Linked DNA regions of Homo sapiens: all the other regions are linked to region 1. The links are contacts of gene promoters, found by promoter capture Hi-C in blood cells and fetal thymus (Javierre and others, 2016). All regions are on one chromosome and are shown on one strand. Each heading gives the region's core, a stretch centred on a gene start or on the middle of the fragment in contact. The rest is flanking DNA. Distances are from core to core; before and after follow the strand shown.

Region 1 (3,559 bases), core at 411-2,910:
GTCATCCACAACTTCCATGACTGCTGCTGTATTCTTATCCAAGTCACTGATGGCACCCTGAATTGGCTGGCCAGGGCAGGAGGTTTGGGCAGGCCCCTAGCAGCCTCATCTGCTGGTCCCTCCTCTTCATCAGCCACCTCTGGGCTAGTCTTTAATAAGCCTCAGTGCTATCATCCAGCATTGATTTCACTTTCGCATCTAAGATGTGAATTGTCAAATGCCCTGTTGAAATCTGCATTTGCTGTATCTGCAGCATCCGCCTACCTGGTACTCCTGCAAAAAAGAAAGATACTGTGTAAATCTGGTATTCTCTTTTCCTTTAGTGTTTAATCACAAAATTTCACTTAGTGCTGATTAAGCTCACTGGCCTGTAATTTTCATCTCCATCTTCTGTCCTGTGAAAATTCAGCACTGCTTGCCCTTTTAGGACTTCTGGCACTTTGCCTGATTTTCCCAGATTTCCAAGGGAGGAACTCAGTGGGTTTTCACTCTCGTCTTGTTTAAACCTTACATCCAGTTTGGCAGATGATATGCCCATTTGTTTTATCCCGTAATTCATGCCGCCAGATTTTTTGGCATCAGGATCACAATCCTACTCATCTGAAACCTACTTAGGTGGTGCTTTTCTGCCACATTCCACTTCCTTGTGATATTTAGAAATGTCTTGTTAGCCTGTTTCCATAGAGAATGGCAAGAGCCCTCAAGTAGAGGCCACACCTAAAATTAAGCTTGATAATGGAATGTATGTTTTTCCTTCGGTTACTCTCCGCTCTTTCCCTTTTCCATCCCCTTTCCTTTTATTTTTCTCCCCGCTCTGCACCTGCCAGCTGGCCCCCAAGGAAATTAAGGGCTCCTCTTCTGGTGTGAAATGCTGGCTCCCTGAAAACATCATTTTAAAAAGCATGTTAATAAAGCAAAGCCAAGTGTATTATGCACTGCGGTCAAGAGCACTACTTCACAGTCTTTAGTCTTCGGAGGAGGAGGGGGAAATGCAGGATATTTATGAGGATTCTGGGGTCTTCCTTAAGGCTAGTCTTTCAATGCAGGGCTTGAGTAGGGTTAGGCCAAGTTCATGATATAATGGTCCAAGGTTGGGGAATAAATTAGAAGTACCGAATGTTATCTTCTAGCCTTGGGTCCTTGGGTGGGTTTCTTAAATTTTTTGAGCTTCAGGTTCCTCATCTGTGAAAGGGTTAGATAAGATTCAGTGAGATAATGTGTGACTCTGGCACATGGTGAGCTCTAGATAAATGGCGCTTTTGTGTCCATCAGTCTCATTCCCAAAGCCTAGGCTTTCGGGTCGGTCATCCGGCTGCCCGACCCGCGACGGCGCAGGGGAATCGGCGAGCGTGGCGGGGTGCTGCGCTGCGCCCCTCAGCCGGCAGAGGCCGCCAGCGCGCCCTCGGTCCGGACGGTGCCCGCCCCTGCCACCGCCTCCCCGCGCATGGCTGCCCCGGCGGCTGCCTGACCGCCGCCCGCCACCTCGGCGGCCTCGCAACCCGTGGGAGCCCGTGGCCATCGCAGACCTAGAGGACACGTTGGGCGGCGCAGTCGCCGCGGCAAGGTCGGCGGGCGGCGCGGCGCGAGGGACGGCGAGCGGGGGGCGGCCCGGCCCGGGTCCTCGCGGGTCCTCGGCGGGCCCGGGGGAGGGCCCTCTTTGTGGCTGCAGTTGGCAAGATGGCGCCGGTGGGGGTGGAGAAGAAGCTGCTGCTAGGTCCCAACGGGCCCGCGGTGGCGGCCGCCGGCGACCTGACCAGTGAGGAGGAGGAAGGCCAGAGCCTATGGTGAGGCCGCGGGCGGTCGGGCCGGGCCGTGGGGGGCGCGGCCTCTGGGCCGGACCGTCGGACACACTGAGGGGCCGACGCGAGCCGGGCCATCCCAGCCCGGCCCGGGGCTGACCACTCTTGCCATTGTCGCCACAGGTCCTCCATTCTGAGCGAAGTGTCCACCCGCGCCAGGTCCAAGCTGCCGTCCGGCAAGAACATCCTGGTCTTCGGTGAGCGCCGGCGGCGGGGCGTTGCCCCAGGTCGCTGGGGTGGGCGAGGCGGGCGCCCCTCCCTCAGGTCCCCGCCTTCCCCGTTCCAGCCGCCTGCCCGCAGCCTGGCGGGAAAGGGACCGTCGGCCCTGGCCGGTCAGCTGGAGAGTGGTCAAGCCTCCAGCGCCTGAGGGTGGGATGCTGCCCTCTTTGGAGAGCGTAGTGGTGCTTTGGGGTTGTCGGCATATTGTTTCAGTCACTTGGCCCTCTATGCCTTCATTGCCTCGACGGTTACCAAATTGAGGTCGTGGAGAGGGGAAGCTAGTAGATGAGATTAGGTGGAGAAGGTGGGAGAACGAGGTGACCTGGGCTCGGAGCTGTGGGGAAATGACCACGGGAGCCTTCTTTGAGCCTCATCAGTAGTGCATAGTCCGAGGTTTTAGGGACTTTGCAGAGGACAGAGAGTCAGCACTGGGGACGTTTCCTCCATTATGCTAGCCCTCACTGCTAGGTTACCTGAGTCAGGTCCCTTACTCCCTCTGGCCTCACTCTCCTCAAGTGAGGGAGTTTGGGTACATTCACACAGCAAGTCCATTTGTTGCTTGGGACCTGTGGGCTGGGCACAGGCTCAGCATAGGCGACTCTTAAACACTATAGAAGAATCTCAGTCTGGTGGAAGACAGATGTATTGGTGATTGCATTGCACCATGCCGATTATTGTGGAAGCATTACACTGCTTAGAGCTGGTGAAGGAGGATGATTCGGGGGTTGAGTATTTTGCAGAAAAGTGTCAGTATGCAGGGACACAGATGACAAGAGGGTGTGGGGTTTGGAAACTGCTAGAAGCGCCTTGTGGTTGGTGGCTGCTAAGGTAAGTTGGGGGCAGATTGTGGGAAGGCTGAAGAGTTAGTGCTGTTTCCTGAAGTTCTCTGATTTTTCAAATGGCTTTTATCTCACCTCCATCCCCCAATTCCCATGGGAATCACTGCCTTGGTAGTTTTCCTACTGTTAGAATGTGTGACCTTTCTCAGGAATTGACTGTGGTAGGTAATACCGGACCCTTAGAGATCTTCAAGAAGTGGGGGATCAAGATCACCAGATCTGAGTTTTAGAAAGAACGCTGCCTGCAGAGGGACAGTAGCTCAAAATGAGCAGGTACTGAAGTCAGGCTGACAGGTCCTCACCTTGGTCTGGATGCAGAGGGCCTGAATAAGGTAGAGGCATTGGAGATGGAGAGGAGGTCTTTGATCTGTGGACTGACTGCCTTTCAATTCTCATGTTCTGTAATTCCATATTATTAAATGGCAGAAGTGCCTAGTAATGTTTGGCGATGGTTCTCCTTGATGTTTAAGGATCCGGGGAAGGGGGGTGTTGTTTGGGTGGAGGGAGATGAAGAAGTGCTTAATAATTAACTGAGATTGTACTGAAGAGTTTTGCTAGGTCTATAATTATTTTCGTCAGTTTCTTAGCCTTCAGAATGTTTGTGAAGGAGATGTACTAAAATCAAAAGTGAATAACTTCCATTCTTCACCATTGTGAAGCAGGATCAGACTTTTTTTAGTTCACAGTACCTGGACTTTTAGG
Region 2 (3,373 bases), core at 143-2,642, 300 kb after region 1:
GAAGGGCTGGGTCTCGAAAGATGAACTAAGCATATCAGGATCAGTAAAGGGAGAGAAGAGCATGGGCAGGAACACAGAGGGGTGAGTCTGTAGGATGTCACCTTGATGGCAGCTGAACATTTGGATCATGGGGTGAGGAAAAGGATACTTGGTGTTCAGACTACTTTTTACAATGAGGATGCATCTCTACAAGAAGTCAACTAATGTCTTGTCATGGTCCATGCCACCTGACATTTGTGGCATTGGGAGCGGGGCAGATTACAGTGGACAGGAGACATGGAAGGTGAAGTCATATACCTATTCATCAGTCCCTATTCAACAATCCTCCATCAATTCACCCAGCCAGCAAATCATCCATCCTCTCAGGCATTTACCTATCTATGCATCTACTCAACATCCACTCAATCGTTCACTTATCCATCCATCCATTAATCATCCATCCATCCGTCATTCATCCATCCATCCACCCATCCCCTCACCAATACTCACCAAACACTTAATTCATGCCTGGATATATGCTAGACACTGGGAACACAAATATGAATCAGACTAAAATGGACCTCTCAAACTGGGGAAAGCAAGAGGTCCCACACAGCTGCCCTGGCACTGTTCCCTGCTCCCACCTCTGCTTCCATCTGTTTAATGTGTCAGAGTGAACAGGAGAGCACTTTACTGCCAAATAGAAGCTTTTCAACCATTGTGTTAAAACGTAACTGGAAAAATACAAGTGACCACCCACAAACCCTTAATGGTTCTATAAATGTAAGATGAAAGCAATTCATTCCACTATTAAGATACATTCTGCCACTTAAGTTTATTTAAATAAACTCACTAAGAGTAACGCACATATTCCTCTGCGTATCTAACTTCCTTAAGTTTACCACCTTGTCATCATTCACTAAGGTTTTAACTCCGGCTTAAAGAAGAACTTATTTATTGGCTGAAAAACTCACTGAAACAATTTCACAAATTACTTTTCCCTATTTCTGCAGAGCAAATGGCAAACTGGTTGACATCACAGAACCAAGCCACATTAGAATTAAACATTCCACTTGAACCCACACCAAGCTCTCATTTTCTTGCTAGAATAATGACTGGACTCAACCTGCTCATATTCTCTTCTCTTCCATCACCATCTAGAGTTGGCTCTTGGGCCATTTTCCACAAAGAGCCCAGAGGCTTTTATATATATAATATAATGCCAGTGGAGTTACTGTGCATGCCTGATAAGTAGGAGACAGTGGAATTGGGTTGAGAAGCAGATTCTGGGGGGCTGGCTGGGCCCACCTACCGGCTAGGGGATTTGCTCCCACACCCCAGCTTGCATTTTGCTACTCAAAATCATGGCTCAGAAAAATGACCTTTGACTATAATATGGACTTTCCAGGAAGCTAGTGAATAATTGACATGTAAAATGTTAAATTCATGAATGCTGCGAATTTTCATCAGCTATCCCACCCAGGGGAGAGAGAATATTTACAAAGGATTGTGTGAAGGCCATGTCATCCACAGGCTGCTCTGCACAGTAAAGGTTTTAGTCCTTGGAACAAGTTCAACCAGCCTAGAGCTGTGTTCCTAGGCCACAGTGACTGAGCCTCCTTCCCAAGAATGAGCTTCCTGGAGTTGGGCTTTGCCTTATGCTCAGAGCCTGTGTTGAGGGGACTAGCTTAAGAAGTAGCTTTATCACAGCCAGGAGCAGTGGCTCACACCTGTAATCCCGGCACATCGGGAGCCTGAGGTGGGCGGATTGCTTGAGCGCAGGAGCTCAAGACCACCCTGGGCAATATGGTGAAATCCTGACTCTTAAAAAAATACCAAAATTAGTTGGGCATGGTGGCGTGTGCCTGTAGTCCCAGCTAATTGGGAGGCTGAGGTGGGAGGATCACTTGAACTTGGGAGGTCAAGGCTGTGGTAAACTGTGATTGCACTACTGCACTTCAGCTTGGGCAATAGAATAAGACTCTGTTTCAAAAAAAAAAAAAAAAGTAGCTTTATTATAAGCGTGTTGCTGCAGGTATTGTCCACTATACCTCTCAGTATCCCTAGGTAAGGCTCATGTAATAAATTTCTCCAAGATATGAGGGCCAGGGAAAGCTTTTCTTTCTCCAAAAGAGCTACTTTCTCCTCATAGACCATGAGAATCATGTAACTGATCCACTTTGCTGTTTTGCTTTGGCCTCCAGGAAGCTCAGGGACACTCTGTAGCTCAACTTCAAAAGGAAAGGAAATCATTCCTTCTTTGGCTCTCTGGTGCTAGTTAGCATCATTCAACACAGCCAATTTACAAATTCCCTCTGTGATTCAGATTTGGGAGAATGAGCCAACTTATGGTATGTGCAGGTCACCATTACATTACTTGCTGTTGTAGCTGTGAATAATCATCCTGATTTGGGGGTGTTACTTGCATTGCTCTAAAAGCTACTGGGAGAGGATGTACCCAGAAGTGGTAAATGCAGTGTTTAAGAGCCTGGCTTAGTGACACTGACCAGGGTATTTAATACTTACGTACCTTAGCTTCCTCATCTGTAAAAGAGTAATGACCACTCAGAGTGTTTCTGTGAGGATTAAGGGAGATAATTTAGCAGTCCATACATGCAACTATAAAGCTAGACAAAACTGTCAAAGTACCATTGCAGTTCCTGGAAATTGATCAAAGGCATACAACGAACTGAGAAGCACTTAGTATGAAAAAGACTGAATGTCAGGTAAGCACAGTGTGAACCTGTAATGTTCTTGCCTATGACTGCCTCCATACCCCTCCCCACCAGCTCTGCTCCCCAGTCTGTGAAAACCAGCAGCTTCCCTGCTACTGTTGGAAAGAGCCCATCCAAATGGATCACACTTTCTTGTTTCTTTGTCTTATAAAGTATGATCCATATTCAGGAAAAAATAAAAATAACAAAATAAAAAACCAAACCCAAAGCAAAAAAAAAAAAAAAAAAAAGAAAGAAAGAAAAGGAAGATGTATGCATGGATTAATAACTCCACTTAAAGGGCAGAGATTGTCAGAGTAAATAAAAAGACAAGACCTACCTGTATGCTGACTGCAAGAAACACACCTGATTCAAAGACACAAATAGTTTGAAAATAAAAGGATGGAAGGAGATATAGCATACAAACAGCTTGAGTGGTTATGCTGATATCAGGCAAAATAGACTTTAAGGCAAGATATATATTTCTAGAGACAAAGACATTTCATAATGACAAAAAAGTCAACATATTAGGAAGATATAAAAACTATATATGTATTATATATGCACTTAACAAGTCCCCCAAAACATGAAGTAAAAACTGGGAGAATTGAAAGAAGATATAGATAATTCAACAATAATAGTGGAGATTTTAATGTCCCAATCTCAATAACTGACAAAGC
Region 3 (3,927 bases), core at 977-3,476, 360 kb after region 1:
TCACTGGACCAGAACCTGCAGGGTGGAGTAGAGCTTTATGCTTAATAGGTGACTTGGGTGATTCTCGTCACAGAGACATCTGCACAGCCTGTTTCATGACAGTGGTTTTCAAACTGTGACATGCATGAGATTCCGATTCAGTGTGGGGGTGAGGCCCGAGATGCAACAAGGTCTCAGGGGATGTTGATACTGCTGGGTTCAAGGACCACACTTGGGCATGGGAGCTCTATAGCATCCCAACCAGCGGGTGCTTCAGCAGGCACTTCTAATACGTCTAGAGACCCCAAATTATTGATTATGCCAGTTTTGGAAGAATGAGGGAAAAGGAAAAGAATCCAGGTGCCCTGGCAGATGTGGCCACTCACCAGTGGAATCCAGTTCTTTGGCCTCCACAGTCAGGTTATACCAGGGGTAGACTTCTCTGTCCAGTTCTTTCTCATTGTAAATGTCCCCCTTTTTTGTGACTCGGAAGAACTGGCCCTTGTCACTGGTCCTGCGGATGGAGTATCTGCCCAGGGGAGAGAGTTTCATGGCTTTCCATTGTTCTTTGCTGAGTCTACACTCCTCAGCATGATGGACAAGGCCCTTCTGCATCTGTCCCCTGCATCCCACTCCATGCCCCTCTCTCACTGCTCATTGCACTCTGCCACTCAGACAAGAGTGGACCTACACAGAGGGATTCAGGATAGCAAGATAATGTCTTTGATCTTAGTTACATTGCCATCACTGGACTGGAGGTGGTACCTGAGACCATCAGATGCACTTTCAGAGCTGAACAGGTGACATCACACCATAGCTGGGACTTGTTTTAGTGATTAATGAAAAGATCATTGGGCAAGAGCCAGGAAGGAATACAAAAAGAGCTGGAAGAGATAAGAAGTAATTACAAAGAAATTAACTTTGTGAAATAAAAAACTTAAAAAGTTCTTTCAGAAATCAGGAAAAATCTATGGAAAGATAAATATATATGTTTTGTGTATATAGGAATAATAGTTGCTATTAATGAGGAAAATCCCAGAACAAACAGAACAGAAGAAATAACAAAAAAAAAAAAAAAAAAAAAGAAAAGAAAAGTTTCCTGATCTGAAGAAAGGCTTGAGTCTACACATTATAAGATGTCATTGACATCAGGCATCATTGAAAAAAACCCCAATACTTAGGCAAATCCTGACGACACTTACGAATTTCAAGGCTGTGTGAAGAAACTGAAAAGAGTCCAGACAGAAAGAAATAATTTCCTTATGAGGAAAGAAAAATCAGATTTGCCTCAGATGCCCCCACAAAATTAAATACTAGAATACATTGATAGTATTTTTGAAGGGAAGTGTTTATAATCTGAGGATTATACGAATACATCTAGGTGTTATTAGAAGGCAAGGTTGGGCATGGTGGCTCACATCTGTAATTTGAGTGCTTTGGGAGAGGCTGAAGCTGGAGGTTTGCTTGAGGCCAGGAGTTCAAGACCAGCCCAGCCCAGGTGACAGAGTGAGACCCTGTCTCACCAAAAAAAAAAAAAAAAAAAAAAAAAAAAAAAAAAAAAAAAAAAAAGATTAGCCTGGTGTGGTGGTGTGTGCCTGTAGTCCCAGATACTCAGAGGCTGAGGTGGGAGGGTTGCTTCAGCCTAGATGTTCAAGGCTGTAGTGAGCTATGGTTGTGCCACTGCACTCTAGCCTGGGTGACAGAGGAAGAACCTGTCCCCCCCACCCCCCAAAAAAGGCAAAGAACTAAGATATTTGTGTCCTGAATTTTTTTTTGAAAACTTACTGTATCTAACTAAACATCTCAATATAAAGTAAAAACCTGGCATGGGAAGAATTAAAACAAAACTATTGATTTTTTTTATCATACATAGAAAAGCAATGGGTGTGTGTATGTCTATAATAGTTTTAACTAGAAAATATAGGTCCAAGAAAACATTTTAAATTTTGCAGATAGAAGTAAATCTCACTGGTAGAAATAAAAATGGATGCACCTCATCCAAATATCTAGGAGAAAAAAAAAATAAAGAAACATAGACTGTATAGCAAAGATGAGGAAAAAGAAAAAAGCCATTAAATTTGATAAATGAGAAATGTAAAACAAGATAAAAGAAGGAACATCAAACATATCAATTATGATGAAAAATGTAAATAGGTTAAACACAAAGCATTTCAGTTTAGATTAAAAAGCAAAGCCAAATGCATTCTTGTTTTCAAGAGACAACTTAATGCCAAATGACCTGGAAAAATTAAAAGTAAAGGTTGTAAAATTTGCATTAGGCGTATATGAATAACATGAAAACAGGACTAACAAATGTAACATCAGGAAACAGAATTAAAGGCAAAATATTTAAGCAGAACAAATTGGCTAATTACATTTGGATGAAAGTTACAAACCATAATGAAGGTAAAATAGTTGCAAACCTTTGTTAACTGAATAGAAAAATTTAAATACATAAAGTCAAAACTTAGATATTCTAGGAAGAAGTGGACACAAATACAATTGTATCACATCACAGAACAAGCTAAAGCAAAACAAAAAAAACACCCTATGACTTATAAATGAAAATAAAGAAATCAAGTCAATCTCTTAAATAAACCCTTGGATCAAAGGAGAAACAAAAATTATAATTACAGGCTATTTAGAAAAGAATGGCAATGAAGAGTAGTCCCAAAACTTAGGATATGAGGCCAAAATGGAAGAACATATTTTGTCCTTAATAAGAAGACTTAATACCCTTGAAACATTAGCTATACCAAAATTAATATATAAACACTAGAATTCTAATGTTTAAAAAACCTGGATACAAAATTTTAAATTTCACAAAAGAAAAAATGAGAGTTGACAAAAAATTATATCAAATAAAAAAGCAACATGGGAAGGACTTTTATGTATATCTAAGATCTAGTGTAAAGCTATATGGTTTGGATCTGTGTCCCCACCGAATCTCATGTTGAAATGTAATCCCCAGTGTTGGAGGTGGGCCCTGGTGGGAGGTGGATAGACCATGGGACAGAGTTCTCATGAATGGGTTAGCTCCATCCCCTAGGTTCTGTTCTCAAGCTAGTGAGTTATCATGAGACCAGGTTGTTGAAAAGTGTGTAACAACTCCCTTCCCACTCCTGTTCTGGCCGTGTAAGACGTGCCTGCTTCCCCAGGACTGTAAGTTTTCTGAGGCCTCCCCAGAAGGAGAAGCCACTATACTTCCTGTTAAACCTCTTTTCTTTATAAATTACCCAGTCTTAACTATTTCTTTATAGGAGAATGGACTTATACAAGCTAGTAGAATAAAACAGAATAGCTTTGCTATAGAATGATGGATAGGACAGAGAATTAGAAGTAGATACAGGTATATACAGAAAACTTAGTATATAATGAAGGTGGGAAAACGATGACTTATTATTATAATATTTAGTAAATGGTGCTGGCAAAATCAGCTATGCATCTACAATAAAATAAGATTGAATTGAATTTATACTTACTATTGCATATTATATGGCTCTAAAAAGTATCTGTTGGAACTATATCATTTTTTTCTAAAGATTGTAAAAGAGAAATTTAGTTAAGATAGAAGAGCAAATATCGATGAAACCAGCATGGCATGATCCAAAAAAATTTTAAAACAATCAAACATCAAAAGCAAACAGACAACAACAAACCCACCATAAATGCATCCACATGTTTGTGTGGTCACGAAAAGAAAGGAGCAATAGGACCAGGTTAGGCCACGAACATGAGTTATCTGAGAGTGGGGGTTATCAGTGTTTTCTTGGTAGATCTCTGTGTTGTTTCACTGTATAAAATGAACACTTCTTACTTTTGTGGTTTGGGGAAGATAGATTCAAGAATACAGTTTTAGTGAAGGGGCCTCTGGTGTGTCGTCTGATTGGTTGCTTTCTTGACTGTCAGATCTTACCACATAGGACTGGTGAGAGCTGTGGTGCAGAG

The links. The method cuts DNA at HindIII sites, captures the fragments that hold promoters and counts their contacts. A CHiCAGO score of 5 or more calls a contact.
Region 2: a contact is called between a fragment that was not itself captured here and the fragment with the promoter of DYNC1LI2 in region 1, in 2 of 17 cell types (naive B cells and total B cells). The highest score is 5.9, in naive B cells.
Region 3: a fragment that was not itself captured here is called in contact with the fragment with the promoter of DYNC1LI2 in region 1 in 9 of 17 cell types (total B cells, naive B cells, fetal thymus and 6 more); the score reaches 8.4 in total B cells.

Annotation. Positions count from the first base shown.
Region 1 is chr16:66,749,710-66,753,268 of GRCh38, reverse strand. It overlaps DYNC1LI2 (dynein cytoplasmic 1 light intermediate chain 2), which reads left to right and starts at 1,660. Exons shown (of 13, transcript NM_006141.3): 1 at 1,660-1,784; 2 at 1,923-1,996. The coding sequence starts at 1,678. DYNC1LI2-DT (DYNC1LI2 divergent transcript) reads right to left here and starts at 1,517. Exons shown (of 2, transcript NR_133569.1): 1 at 369-1,517; 2 at 1-273. RefSeq lists an enhancer at 1,304-2,019 and a silencer at 1,233-2,032. The HindIII fragment of the contact is 3,643 bases long and covers 731-3,559 here.
Region 2 is chr16:66,454,301-66,457,673 of GRCh38, reverse strand. All of the region lies in intron 2 of BEAN1 (brain expressed associated with NEDD4 1), which reads right to left. It also overlaps the pseudogene LOC107984807. Among named protein-coding and RNA genes, the nearest start is that of BEAN1-AS1, 20 kb to the left of the region's middle. The HindIII fragment of the contact is 1,408 bases long and covers 689-2,096 here.
Region 3 is chr16:66,392,640-66,396,566 of GRCh38, reverse strand. CDH5 (cadherin 5) reads right to left here. Exons shown (of 12, transcript NM_001795.5): 8 at 366-508. Among named protein-coding and RNA genes, the nearest start is that of LINC00920, 14 kb to the left of the region's middle. The HindIII fragment of the contact is 9,921 bases long and covers 1-3,927 here.